Regions from separate parts of the Homo sapiens genome. Here all the other regions are linked to region 1. The links are contacts of gene promoters, found by promoter capture Hi-C in blood cells and fetal thymus (Javierre and others, 2016). All regions are on one chromosome and are shown on one strand. Each heading gives the region's core, a stretch centred on a gene start or on the middle of the fragment in contact. The rest is flanking DNA. Distances are from core to core; before and after follow the strand shown.

The links. The method cuts DNA at HindIII sites, captures the fragments that hold promoters and counts their contacts. A CHiCAGO score of 5 or more calls a contact.
Region 2: a fragment that was not itself captured here is called in contact with the fragment with the promoter of ACADM in region 1 in 1 of 17 cell types (M0 macrophages); the score reaches 6.4 in M0 macrophages.
Region 3: a fragment that was not itself captured here is called in contact with the fragment with the promoter of ACADM in region 1 in 1 of 17 cell types (M2 macrophages); the score reaches 6.3 in M2 macrophages.

Annotation. Positions count from the first base shown.
Region 1 is chr1:75,722,524-75,726,661 of GRCh38, forward strand. ACADM (acyl-CoA dehydrogenase medium chain) reads left to right here and starts at 2,186. Exons shown (of 12, transcript NM_000016.6): 1 at 2,186-2,294. The coding sequence starts at 2,265. It also overlaps a transcript of SLC44A5 not described here. RefSeq lists enhancers at 1,572-1,661, 2,312-2,401 and silencers at 2,032-2,081, 2,132-2,181. The HindIII fragment of the contact is 3,396 bases long and covers 1-2,682 here.
Region 2 is chr1:74,737,297-74,741,434 of GRCh38, forward strand. It overlaps TYW3 (tRNA-yW synthesizing protein 3 homolog), which reads left to right. Exons shown (of 6, transcript NM_138467.3): 3 at 1,394-1,492. Among named protein-coding and RNA genes, the nearest start is that of TYW3, 6.2 kb to the left of the region's middle. The HindIII fragment of the contact is 226 bases long and covers 1,551-1,776 here.
Region 3 is chr1:74,763,341-74,767,478 of GRCh38, forward strand. TYW3 (tRNA-yW synthesizing protein 3 homolog) reads left to right here. Exons shown (of 6, transcript NM_138467.3): 6 at 554-3,337. The coding sequence ends at 773. Among named protein-coding and RNA genes, the nearest start is that of TYW3, 32 kb to the left of the region's middle. The HindIII fragment of the contact is 2,401 bases long and covers 773-3,173 here.

The DNA of each region.
Region 1 (4,138 bases), core at 936-3,435:
AATGTTTCTTATGATTAGGCATAATTGAAGCCTGTCAGTAACAATATGAACCTGTGATCAATTAAGCAGCTGACCAATCGTTACCACCTCCTCCCTGCTCCTGTTACCCAAAAAATAGGAAGGGCTGTGGAAGCTCTGTGGCTGCCTTTGCTCACGAGAAGCAGGGAGCTCTCTTCTTCTTCCCCTGGCCCTTTCCTTAAAACAGTTCCTTTTGTCTTAAGTTATCATTTCTACGTTCGTCCCTTCATTTGATCTCACAATGATGGTCTCAAGCAGTAACAGTAGTAACTGCTGTAACGATGGTCTCAAGTAGTAACCGTGGCAGTTGGCCACACTAACATTCTTTGATATCTGTTGGCCGTAATAAAGAAATCAATGTACTTTGTGCTCTTAGCTGCCACATTTTAGCCTAGATATTTGCCCTGGCATGCTTATACTGGTCCAAGGAAGCATTAGGCCATAGCCTGTTTTCTTCCTTATCTGGAGGTGTTTTTACCTTTCTCAGCATTCCACAAGTTGCTTCCTCCTTCCTTTGTTCTCCTCTGTCTTTGCCTCTTTTGGAAAGTTCTAAGTTGCTAGCCAATCAGGACAAGTACAGAGGTCCCCTTCCAGCCAATGGAAACCGGACACGGTAGTAGGGTGCACGTGTCAGGTTATAAATGACCCTGTCTCCTTTATGCGTGTGTGCTCTCGTGGCAAGACTACTAGCGAGCGGCAACCTTTCTGCAGAAAGTAAACTAGCCTTGCTAAGAGCTCCTTTGTCTCAGTGTTGATTTTTGCAACACTGAGCGCCCGTTCCCAACATCAGTAAGGCTTTTCTTTTTAATGAAAAGCAGCCCCAAATCCTTTTCTAAGAGCAGCCTGTGAAGTCGAGCTGCAGGCACAGACAAACAAGGGGGTAGCTTGCTTGGGTGAATGGTGGCAGGAACTACCGACTAGACATGTTTAAGATGAGGGCTCCATCTTCGCTTCTCTGCCAGCCACGTGTACAGTAAGAAGGGGTTACAATAGGCATATGGGTGATTTTGTGCTTTTCGTTCATCTTTTCTGTGTTTAAAATGTTCAGAATAAGAAATTGGAACAAAGGAGACATGAATAGACAATTCCTAATCATCTTTAAGAGTCCGCTTTGTGTTTTACTTACCACCACCACTTTGAAGGCTTTCTTGCCTATACCAGGACAAACTCAGCTCTTTATCCCTTTTCCGAATTTTCCTGGTACTTTCACTTTGAATATAGCGCTTAATTAACATTCTGCCTTGTACCTAGGACTAACACACTATAAATTCCCAGAAGACAAAGTAGGGGAATACAATAACAGGATATAGAATTTTAACAGCTAAATTAGATGAATTTATGGGTGACCTTTATTGGGCAAAAGAAAATGTTAAGTTAGTATAAGATTTAGTATAAGCTACCATCTCAAAACTCAGGGTCTCACTGGAAGAGAAAGTGACTCCAGGTAGAATTCCTCAGGGAGACATTCACTTCCATCATTCGCTGAACCAGGAGCTTTGGACAGCCTCGGATTGCACCCGCATATCCAAGGACACCACATCAGCGGACAAGTCATAAACAGCCTTGGGAATACGCGGAAAGGTCAAATTTACCTAAACAATTAAATTCTCTTTTAAATTTTAAGGAAACACAAGTATGCTTTCGCTTTAGGTAGGGCATTTGAGAGCAAAATGTACTAATACTTTGAATCCGCCAAGCAGACACGATCTGGGTTTGACCGTTCTCTCCGGGTAAAGGTGAAGGCTGACCACGGGGGCCGCTCTCCCTCCAGGCCCCAGCCACGCCCTCTAACCCAGGTTCCCGTCCTGCACCGCGCCGCAAGTCCCCCCACCGTTCAGCGCAACCGGGCCCTCCCAGCCCCGCCGCCGTCCCCCTCCCCCGCCCTGGCTCTCTTTCCGCGCTGCGGTCAGCCTCGGCGTCCCACAGAGAGGGCCAGAGGTGGAAACGCAGAAAACCAAACCAGGACTATCAGAGATTGCCCGGAGAGGGGATGCGACCCCTCCCCAGGTCGCAGCGACGGCGCACGCAAGGGTCACGGAGCATGCGTTGGCTACCCGGCGCCGGGGACCGCTGCCACCCCGCCTAGCGCAGCGCCCCGTCCTTCCGCAGCCCAACCGCCTCTTCCCGCCCCGCCCCATCCCGCCCACGGGCTCCAGTGGGCGGGACCAGAGGAGTCCCGCGTTCGGGGAGTATGTCAAGGCCGTGACCCGTGTATTATTGTCCGAGTGGCCGGAACGGGAGCCAACATGGCAGCGGGGTTCGGGCGATGCTGCAGGGTGAGAGGGAGCCCAGCGGTGCGGTGGGGCTGGAACATGGGTATTGTGGTGTCGGAGCAGGGGGCCCTGGGCCAAAAATAGGTGCGGCCGGGAGGAGTGGGAAGTCGGGCTGAGGAAGGAGCCAGCCTAGGGGCCCCCAACCTGCTTTCACGCCTCCTACCACCGGACGGAACGTAGCCTAGCGTTTCATTTTCCGTATCCTCCCGTCAGGCGACCCCGTTATAGCCGGCATCCTCTCTTTAGAATATCGTTTTTCTTTCTCTGGTAAACCCTCCAAATATTTACCGCGGGAATCCCACCTTTTTCCAAAGTGACCCCGTCTCTGTGTCAGAACCACGGGAAAAAGAAAAATGGAGCAGCTACTCCTTGAAATACTTAATGTTTAATAAGCTTTTCGTTGTAACGTTTCCACGTTGCTTACGGGAAAAAAAAAAGTAAAAAAAAAACCTGCAGAATTTTATGTGAACTTGTGTGTATATTCTAGTATTGGATCTTAATAGATTCTAAATAAGTTTGTCACTAGATGAATTTTGGTATCTTAAATATTCTTGATATGTTCACACCACTGCCATTTAGATGTCACTTAAAATTAAGTTAAAGTTATGTCTTGGACCAAAAAAGCTGCGGTTTTAGAATAATCCTAAAGAATTGCTGCCCATGTTTTGCTGGTGTTATGCAAGTTAATGTGCAGTGAAGGCAGAAATTGGGAGATTTCAGCTATTTTTAACTCCTACACCAGAAAAGCAGATTTCTCAACCTCCAAGGAAGGATCTAAAAAAAACCTGATATAGAAAACTTACACCCTTTTTCTCTTCTTTAACCCATAAAACTGACACTCTTATATTCCCAAGAAATGCACAAAAGTGTTCAATTCTAGTGGTGCTGTTTCGATATTTGGAATTTCATTGTTCTAGACAGAGAGCCCGAAGTAATAAAACCAATAGTTATATAGCATTAGGCTTTCAAAACATTATCGTACTTTAATCGTCCGAAAATACGCAGTGAGATTAGTCCCATTTTTTGGTTTTGAACGGAAGCTATAAGCAGTTTGTAAACCTGTCTACGGCCACAAATATGGTTGTGGAACCTAGATTCACATTCAGCAATTATAACTCCAGATCCCGTGCTGTTTCTGTTTTCTATTTGCAAACCACCTCTCTAATTAACTGGCTAACTTTGTTATGTAATTAACAGGTTGATGGGCATTGTATTCTGGTAATAGCAACCTTTGCACTTTGTTCTATGTAACATATTTTCCTGAACAGTCACATGTGAAGTGACTTTTTCCCTATTTAAATTCCCTCGGTTGGCCAGGTGCGGCGGCTCACGGTTGTGATCCTAGCACCTTGGGAGGCCTCGGCGGGTTGATCACTTAAGGCCAGGAGTTCGAGACCAGCCTGGCCAAAGCAGGGAAACCCTGTCTTTACTAAAAATAGGAAAAATTAGCTGGGCATGGTAGCATATGCCTGTAATCCCAGGAGGCTGAGTCTGCAGTGAGCGGAGATCTCTCCACCGCACTCTAGCCTGGGTGACAGAGGGAGACTCTGTCAAAAAAAAAAAAAAGTCCCTCAGTAGACCATTTAACCTGGTTTGAGTTCTGACTTTTGTGCATGGTATTTAAAAACGCATTTATAATAGAGTCAGGTTTTTTGTTCTGATTTTTGTGGAATGTTTTCCTTTGTTATGGAACCTAGTGACCAATTAGGATACTAACAGAAAGATCAGTATAGCAAGGTGGTTAATAGCATGCGCTCTTGATAGTAAATGTTAGAATCCTGGTTGCACTAATAGTAGAGTGACTTTGCCTAATTTAGTTGACTTTCTGAGCCTTCGTTTCTTCACAT
Region 2 (4,138 bases), core at 414-2,913, 990 kb before region 1:
TCTCTTCTGCTGCAGATAATCTTTGTTGCAGAAATGGTAGCTGTCAGCAACACCAGTAGAAAAAGAACTCCTTTTCCTGCAATTCATGTGTCCATCTTAGAGAAGGACTTGGAATTGTCCTGCTTAGATTAGGTGCTCTCCCTCTTAGGTTAATTATTTTTGCTAGTGGAATGTGATGATATCCTTGATCAGACATAAGCAAGCACTTGGCACCTCTGATATTGTGATAGGGAGAGTGATGTGTGACAGGGTAATGATTGACAGCCCCACCAGAAATCAAATGGTGTGAAGGCAGGACGATGTTGCCCGGGGATGCTGGGCAGACAGAAATAATAACTGTCTTGTATAAATTCTAGCTCAGACACAATATTACATGTTTCACTAGGTGGTCAGACTACGCCGCAGGATACACTGTAACATGGGTGCAGCCAAGGTTAAAAGGCAGGCAAGTGCTACCTAGGGAAGAGACTAGTACCTGACTCAAGGTCACTAACAAAAAACACGCATACTAGGCTCAAGTGTTGTAACATTTGCTTATAGCAGGAGGGAAGAGACTACACAAGATCTAGCCCTTTGCAATGTGTCAGTCCCCATGGCTAGCAGATTGGTTCCACAGCTGATCAGGGCAGAGTGATGGCATGTACCCCACTTTGTGCTGCAGTAGCTCCCAGACCCTGAACACTGCCCCATAGGGTCTGAAATACAGAAAGCTAGGAACGTGCTCAGGGGCCATTGGTTCTCATGTAGCTGAGCAGTTCCAAGGTTCCTCTCCCAAAGTTAGGAGATAGCAAAAACAAACAAGTGAACAGGGAAAAAAAAACAAACAAAAAAACTGCAAGTTGCAATTGTTACAACAACTGTGCCTGTTACAGAGGGAACAGGAACTCACTGGCTGTGCTCTGAGCTCTTTGCATGCACTGCTATTTGTGAGCTTACTAGTGCTGCTGGTAAGCACTGGTGCTTGGTACAGGATGCTTCTTGGGAACATGGGTGGCAGTTAGGCTTTGTTTGGACCCTTCTCTCACATTACATTTGTCTCTATCTCAATCTAACAAAAAATTTAAACAATCCTAATACAGTTTTTGTATACTACATTTCCTAATGAAAAATCCGTTATGGAATTAAATAAAGTAGTAGTTTACTTCTTCAAAGCACACTAATAGGTGGAAAGAATGGTATAGAAGATTTACGGGAGAACTAGAAATTTTAAGAAAATAAGCAAATAAATTTTTGGTGAAAAAGGACCAAGAAAGCAGAGGGAAAAGTTACTGCAGAAAAAATATGCTGAGTGATTCTGAAAATTTCTAAGAGAAATTGAAGTTATGTATGGGGTAAAGGGTCGCCAAAGGACAGGCCATATACTTGCATCTGATACCACTGTTCATTTATTTAGATTGTAGCTCTGAAGAAAGCAAATGGTGATGCCACTTTGAAATTTGAACCATTTGTTCTTCATGTGCAGTGTCGACAATTGCAGGATGCACAGATTCTGGTAAAATTTTGTTGTAATTGTACTTGAATTTATAGATATGTGGGTAGATGTAATTTTAAGCTTTTAACCTGCTATAAATATCAATGAGATATTACCTTATTCAACTAGTTATGTATATATTATTTATTGGTCTGCTCAATCTATTAATTTTTAATATTAGAAAAAAAGAGTAGCTAATCATTGCTAGGAAAATATAAGTCCCAGGTTATGCTTCCTGTTTTCTTTCTTAACGTTTTTATTTATAAATTTTACTTCAGCATTCTATAGTTTGTTTTTGTTTGCCAAGCTTTAAGAAAAAATACTGTGGAACTACATGTAAAATTAAGAGTTTTAAAGAATATTTCATTTTTCCCATTTAAATGAGCATGCATGAGGTAAACATCTGTTTAGTCTTGATTCTCCTTTTTATACCTTTTATATATTTATATATAAAACTGAATTGCATTTTAAGCAACAATAATGTATTGAGTCTCAGTGTGTCAAGTACTAGGGGCACAGTGATGAACAAGATTAAAGACTGTCTTGGTTCCTCTTCCAAAGTTAGGAGACAGCAAAAACAAACAAGTGAACTGGCAAAAAAACAAAAAACAAACTGCAAGTTGCAAAATGTTCTACCGAAGGAAAAAACAACCTGGTAATAGAGAACAGTGCAAAAAGCAGCTCACTTGAAGATAGGCTTCTCTGAAAAGCTTTCTTTAAGCTAAGACTTAAAGGAACAGAAAGAGCTAGGCATGTAGCTGGGAAATGAACATTCCATGAAGATGGAAAAGTATATACAAAGTTTCAGTGGGTCTAGAGAGTGGAAAGAAGGTGCCAGAAGGAGGCTGGGGCCAGGTCATTTAAGGCTTTGTAGACCAGATTAAAGAGTTTGAATTTCTTTCTGAGTTCAGGGAAAAGTTATTGAAGGGACAGTTTTAAGCAAAGAGTGGCTTTCTAGGTTTTTGTTCTGAAAAACTCAGTTCTGCTTCAGCATAGAGAAAGGAGTGCAGTAAGTGAAAAGATACGAGTTAGGAGTAGTTTGTGGTGATAGGTTGGTGTAAGGTGATAGCACCAAAGCAGGTGAGAAAGGAATAGATTCAATATGTATTTCAGCATTTGAATCAACAGAATTGTAAGGTTGTCTGGGGAAGGACAGCCAGAGGGAGGAGGAGAAAGAGGAATCAAGGATAACTACTTAGGTCTGGCTGGAGCCCCTAGCTGTATGGTAGTCGCCTTTATCCAGATGGGGTGTGCTGAAGTTGAAGTGTGTCCAGAATTGGTTCCTTCCAGTGGGTTATTGGTCTCGCTGACTTCAAGAATGAAGCCGTGGACCCTCGCAGTGAGTGTGACAGTTCTTAAAGATGGTATGTCCGGAGTTTGTTCCTTCAGATGTTCAGATGTGTCCGGAGTTTCTTCCTTCCAGTGGGTTCGTGGTCTTGCTGACTTCAGGAGTGAAGCTGCAGACCTTCGCAGTGAGTGTTACAGCTCTTAAAGGTGGCATGTCCAGAGTTGTTTGTTCCTCCCAGTGGGTTCGTGGTCTTGCTGATTTCAGAAATGAAGCCGCAGACTTCCACAGTGAGTGTTAACAGCTCATAATGGTAATGCAGACCCAAAGACTGAGCAGCAGCAAGATTTATTAAGAGTGAAAGAATAAAGCTTCTGCAGCTTGGAAGGGGACTCAAGTGGGTTGCTGCTGCTGGCTCGGGTGGACAGTTTTTATTCCCTTATTTGGCCCCACCCACATCCTGCTGATTGGTCGCTTTTACAGACAGCTGATTGGTCCATTTTACAGAGTGCAGATTGGTGCATTTACAATCCTTTAGCTAGACATAGAGCGCTGATTGGTGCGTTTTTACAGAGTGCTGATTGGTGCGTTTACAATCCTTTAGCTAGACACAGAGCGCTGATTGGTGCATTTTTACAGAGTGCTGATTGGTGCGTTTACAATCCTTTAGCTAGACACAGAGCGCTGATTGGTGCATTTTTACAGAGTGCTGATTGGTGCATTTACAGTCCTTTAGCTACACACAGAGCGCTAATTGGTGCGTTTTTACAGAGTGCTGATTGGTGCATTTGCAGTCCTCTAGCTAGACAGAAAAGTTCTCCAAGTCCCCACTTGACCCAGAAAGTCCAGCTGGCTTCATCTCTCAATCCACCCTCTAAACAGGACACCTCAACTGCTGCTGGGAATTTGGCGATGACGGCTCTAGCTACTTCCTGCTGGATAGGGGTGAAGAAGGGGCCCTGCAGTTGTAGTGTCCTCCAGAGGGGAACTCTTTAGACCAGTGAAAGGGCCAGTGGGTCCGTCCAGGGGTCCTCGGTAGAAGTTGTTAGTTGAGCTCGTTTGGCTACAGTATATAGTCCTATCACAAAGAGTATGGTTAGTATGCTGCTAGAAAATATGATGAAATAGTAAAAGGATTCCATTAAAGGGGTAAAGAGAGGTGTTAAAGATTATGTAGGTTTTCACTTATATTTTTTAAGGAGGAATGGGTTTTTCCTCAGGATCAGAGGTAAGAGCCTTTTTAGTCTGGGATGTTTCCTTCCAAAATAGGAGATGCAAGTCCTCCAATGGTTCGCAGGTGTATCGAGGCTGGTCTGGCTGATCTTGGGACTCCTGAGCTGATGGTCCCGCAGGTTCCTCCGGGGGTGTCCAAAATTTAACTG
Region 3 (4,138 bases), core at 723-3,222, 960 kb before region 1:
TAAAGGCCAATCTAGATGACATAATGTTGTACTGCCACTCTCAATAAATAATAACTTTGAAAAAACAATGTAAAACTTTATATGTAATATTCTAATTGTGACAAATAGGTATATGGATTAATTAATAAATACATTAATTCAGACTACATTAATAAACTGAAAAGAAAAATATTGAGAGGAGTTATTTCTAGTTATGTAGAGGTGATCTGTATTTGTAACCTCACACATTATACAAATTACCTAAAATGAGCCATTACATTTATGTAATAATAATTGCATTCTTTTTTACCCTCTTCTTTGACCCCTACATTTGGGTTGGAAAGTGAGGTAGGACAGAGGTTGTCAAGAGGTGATTCCAATCCAGTTTTCAGGGCTGTTCTTAAAGAACTGAAATGCATTTATTTCCCTAATAAAACATATTATTTATTTGATTTATATTTATAAAGCTAATATGGGACATAGTCAAATTTACATAACTTATAAGCTCTTGGTGTATTTCAGTCATTTCGTTTCAGTACACACAGATATAATAGTAGTACTTATTTCTTCACAGGTTTTACAACTGCCTACAGCATGCTTTGGAAAGGGAAACGATGACTAACTTACATCCCAAGATCAAAGAGAAAAATAACTCATCATATATTCATAAGAAAAAAAGAAACCCAGAAAAAACACGTGCCCAGTGTATTACTAAAGAAAGTGATGAAGAACTTGAAAATGATGATGATGATGATCTAGGAATCAATGTTACCATCTTCCCTGAAGATTACTAAGCTTTGGTTCTGATGTGTCTTGGCCGTAATGTTTCTAGTAGGTTTTATAAAGCTGCTCTTCATAAGAGTATTTTAGTTTGTTGAGTGTATCAGCCATTCATAAGCCAGTAATGACAAGTGCAGAGCTTCAAACTATAACTTTGTTGCCCAGAGGATGTGCAGTTGTCATCTAAGCTCTCAGCAGTACCCGGCTTATCCTACGACTTCACCTGAAATGCTATAGTTATCCCTACTTTTTTACCAGTTTCTCCCAGAAGCACCTGCTTAATAAATCAAAGATGTTTGAATGGTGTCTTATTCTGAAATAACCTGACCTAAGACAGGTATTTAGATTATTTTGGATACATTTTGAAAAGGGATAGCATAAATATTTTAAGTAAAAAGACCTTTATTTTAAATAATAGTGGATATTTTAATGCTGGAAATTAGCATTATAGTTGATATGCCAGAAATTATATCTTTGGTTGTGATTTAAACTTATGCTATAAACTAAATTAATGATGTAAATACATAGTTTTAAACATTCTTTTAGGGACATGTAACTTTTAAGTATCACTTCAATAATACGTATTATTATAGGAACAAAGATTTGGGAATAATTGATTACAGGTGAGGAAGTACTGGAATTCCAGTTCAAGGAGATACCATTTCATTTAGGACTAAAAGGACAAGATACAAGTTCACATGATGGGAAAAATCAGAAAACCTCTCGCAGACAAAGGGTATATAATGGATATGAGGCATCAAAAAGCATGGTATAGTCAGTGATGGGGAATAGTCCAGAAAGGCTGAAACACAGCATGTGATGCGAGTCAAGGTAGTTGATGCCCAACTGTGAAGGGCCGTTCTAATCTAGCATGGAGGTAGACAGTGTTTCCTTAATATGGCTGCATATCAGAATTACCTAGGTCAGGACGAGGCATGGAGATGCTACTTTAATAGGCCCTGCCGCAGATCTTCCAAACCAGAATCTTAATCCTGGAGTCTAGGAATCTTTATTTTTCACACAACTCATCCAAGTGGTTCTGATAAAATCAGTCCAGCACTTTTAGAACCCACTGATAACAGACTTATTCCTGGAGACAGCATTTGAGGAGGAATTGAAGATTTTTCTAATGAAAAGAAAAAGGGTCACATGAACAGATGTTGCAGTGTACCTGTGCCAGGGATTTCATGTGTACACTTTATAGGAGAATAAGCAAGAGCTTAGGTAAGTTATAGTCCTTACCATTGGGTCTAAGGCAGTTTCCAGGAAAGCATGGCAACTCGTTCAGCTATGTAAGTTGAACTCTGTACCACTTGGGAGGGAACATTCCCCTAGATGACAATGTCAGTGGCACTCGAAGTTGTGCAGTGCACATTCTTATCTACCAACATATACAGCAGTCCTTCTGGGAAGGAAATTTGGGCAGGAAAGGGAACTCACAGTGTCGGAATGCCTGGAGCATTTCTTCTAGTCTGGTGGACAGAATATGAAAGTATCTGCCTGGCAGTGCAGTAAATGAAAAGAGAAGATAAATGAATAAAAAAAAAAGTTATAAATAACAGTAGGAAAGAGAGAGTGCAGGTGGAACGAGCCTATCCTGTGGTGAAATGACAACACATTCTGCAGTTTTAAAATCTAAGAGGCTCATTGACTTTTCTTCATTCATTTAAATTGATCTCCAAGAAAACTATGTATTTTAAAGATTCCATAAACTGAATATATGAATGAGAATTAAGAAGAGAGGGGCTGCTTCCTAATCTGTTTATATAAGGTATAGTATAGTATAATCTGTTTATATAAGGTTAGTAGAGAGGAGACACCAGGTGCTGGCCATAAACCTAAGAAGACATTGAATCCCATTCACTCCTTAACATTCCTTAATATACATTCATGAGCTACATAACATTTTAATCATCAATGATGGACCATATACCATATACGATATGGTGGCCCCATAAGATTATAATGGACCTGAAAAATTCCTATTGCTAGTGATGTGGTCATTGTAAAGCTGTAGCACAACACATTACCCACGTTTGTGGTGACAGTCATATAAAAGTATGGTACATATAATTATGTACAGTGCATACATAATACTTGATAATATGTTACTGGTTTGTGTCTTTGCTATGCTTTTTATCATTATTTTAGGGTATACTACTTAAAATGTTAACTGTAAAACAGCTTCTGACAGGTCCTTCAGGAAGTACTCCAGAAGAAGGCATTGTTATCATAGAAGGTGACAGCTTCATGTGTGTTATTGCCCCTGAAGACCTTCCAGTGGTACAAGATGTGGAGGAGGAAGACAGTGATACTGAGGATTCTGACCCTGTGTAGGCTTAGGCTAATGTGTGTGTTTATATCTTAGTTTTTCACAAAAAGGTTTTTCCAATGTTAAAAAAAATATATAAAAAAGCTTATAGAATAAGGATATAAAGAAATATTTTGTACAGCTGTACAATAAGCTAAGCATTATTACCAAAGAGTCAAAAAGTTTTAAGAAATTAAAGTTTATAAACCAAATGTTCATTGTGAGCCAAGGTTAATTTATTGAAGAAATAAAACATTTTTAATGAAATTTTGTGTAGTCTTAGTGTCCAGTGTTTATAAAGTTTATACAGTAATACGTTTATACAGAACATCCTAGGCCTTCACATTCACTCACCACTCAGTGACTCACCCAGAGCAACTTCCAGTACTGCAAGCTCCATTCATGGTATGTGCCCTGCACAGATGTGCTATTTTTCACCTGTTATACTATATCTTAATTGTACCTTTTCTATGTTTAGATATGTTTAAATACATAAATACTTATCATTGTGTTACAATTGCCTACAGTAGTCAGCACACTAACATGCTGTACGGGTTTGTACCCTAGAAGCAATAGGCTCCACCATGTAGGCCCAGTAGTGATGTTTGCGTGACTAAATCACCTTACAACCCATTTCTCAGAACATGTTTCTATTGTTAAACAACACACAACTATTTTATTTATGTGTTTTATTTATGCCTGATCACCAATATCAATAACTGAAACACAGCAGTTTAGTAATAATTTAATACACACCATAACCTGCCTATTGAGAATGGCATTATATTTGTTTTCATTGTAGTGGCTCCATCCAAAATAAAATGATTTTTTTCCTTCCTTCAGGATGAAGGCAAGCATTTATTCCTACGGTCTGGATTCCTCATATCACCTACAAGTTAACTGCTTTTGTGTTCTAAAAGAGAGAGGAAAAATGAAGTCAACCTTATTGAAAAACAAGGAGGGAAACTAAGGAACATGCTTTTGCTTTTGAGGTTCTAGGCCAGAAGTCATAAGCTGTAACTTGTCCAAGTTATGGCCAAGCAGATATGTTTTGTTTGGCCCACATGG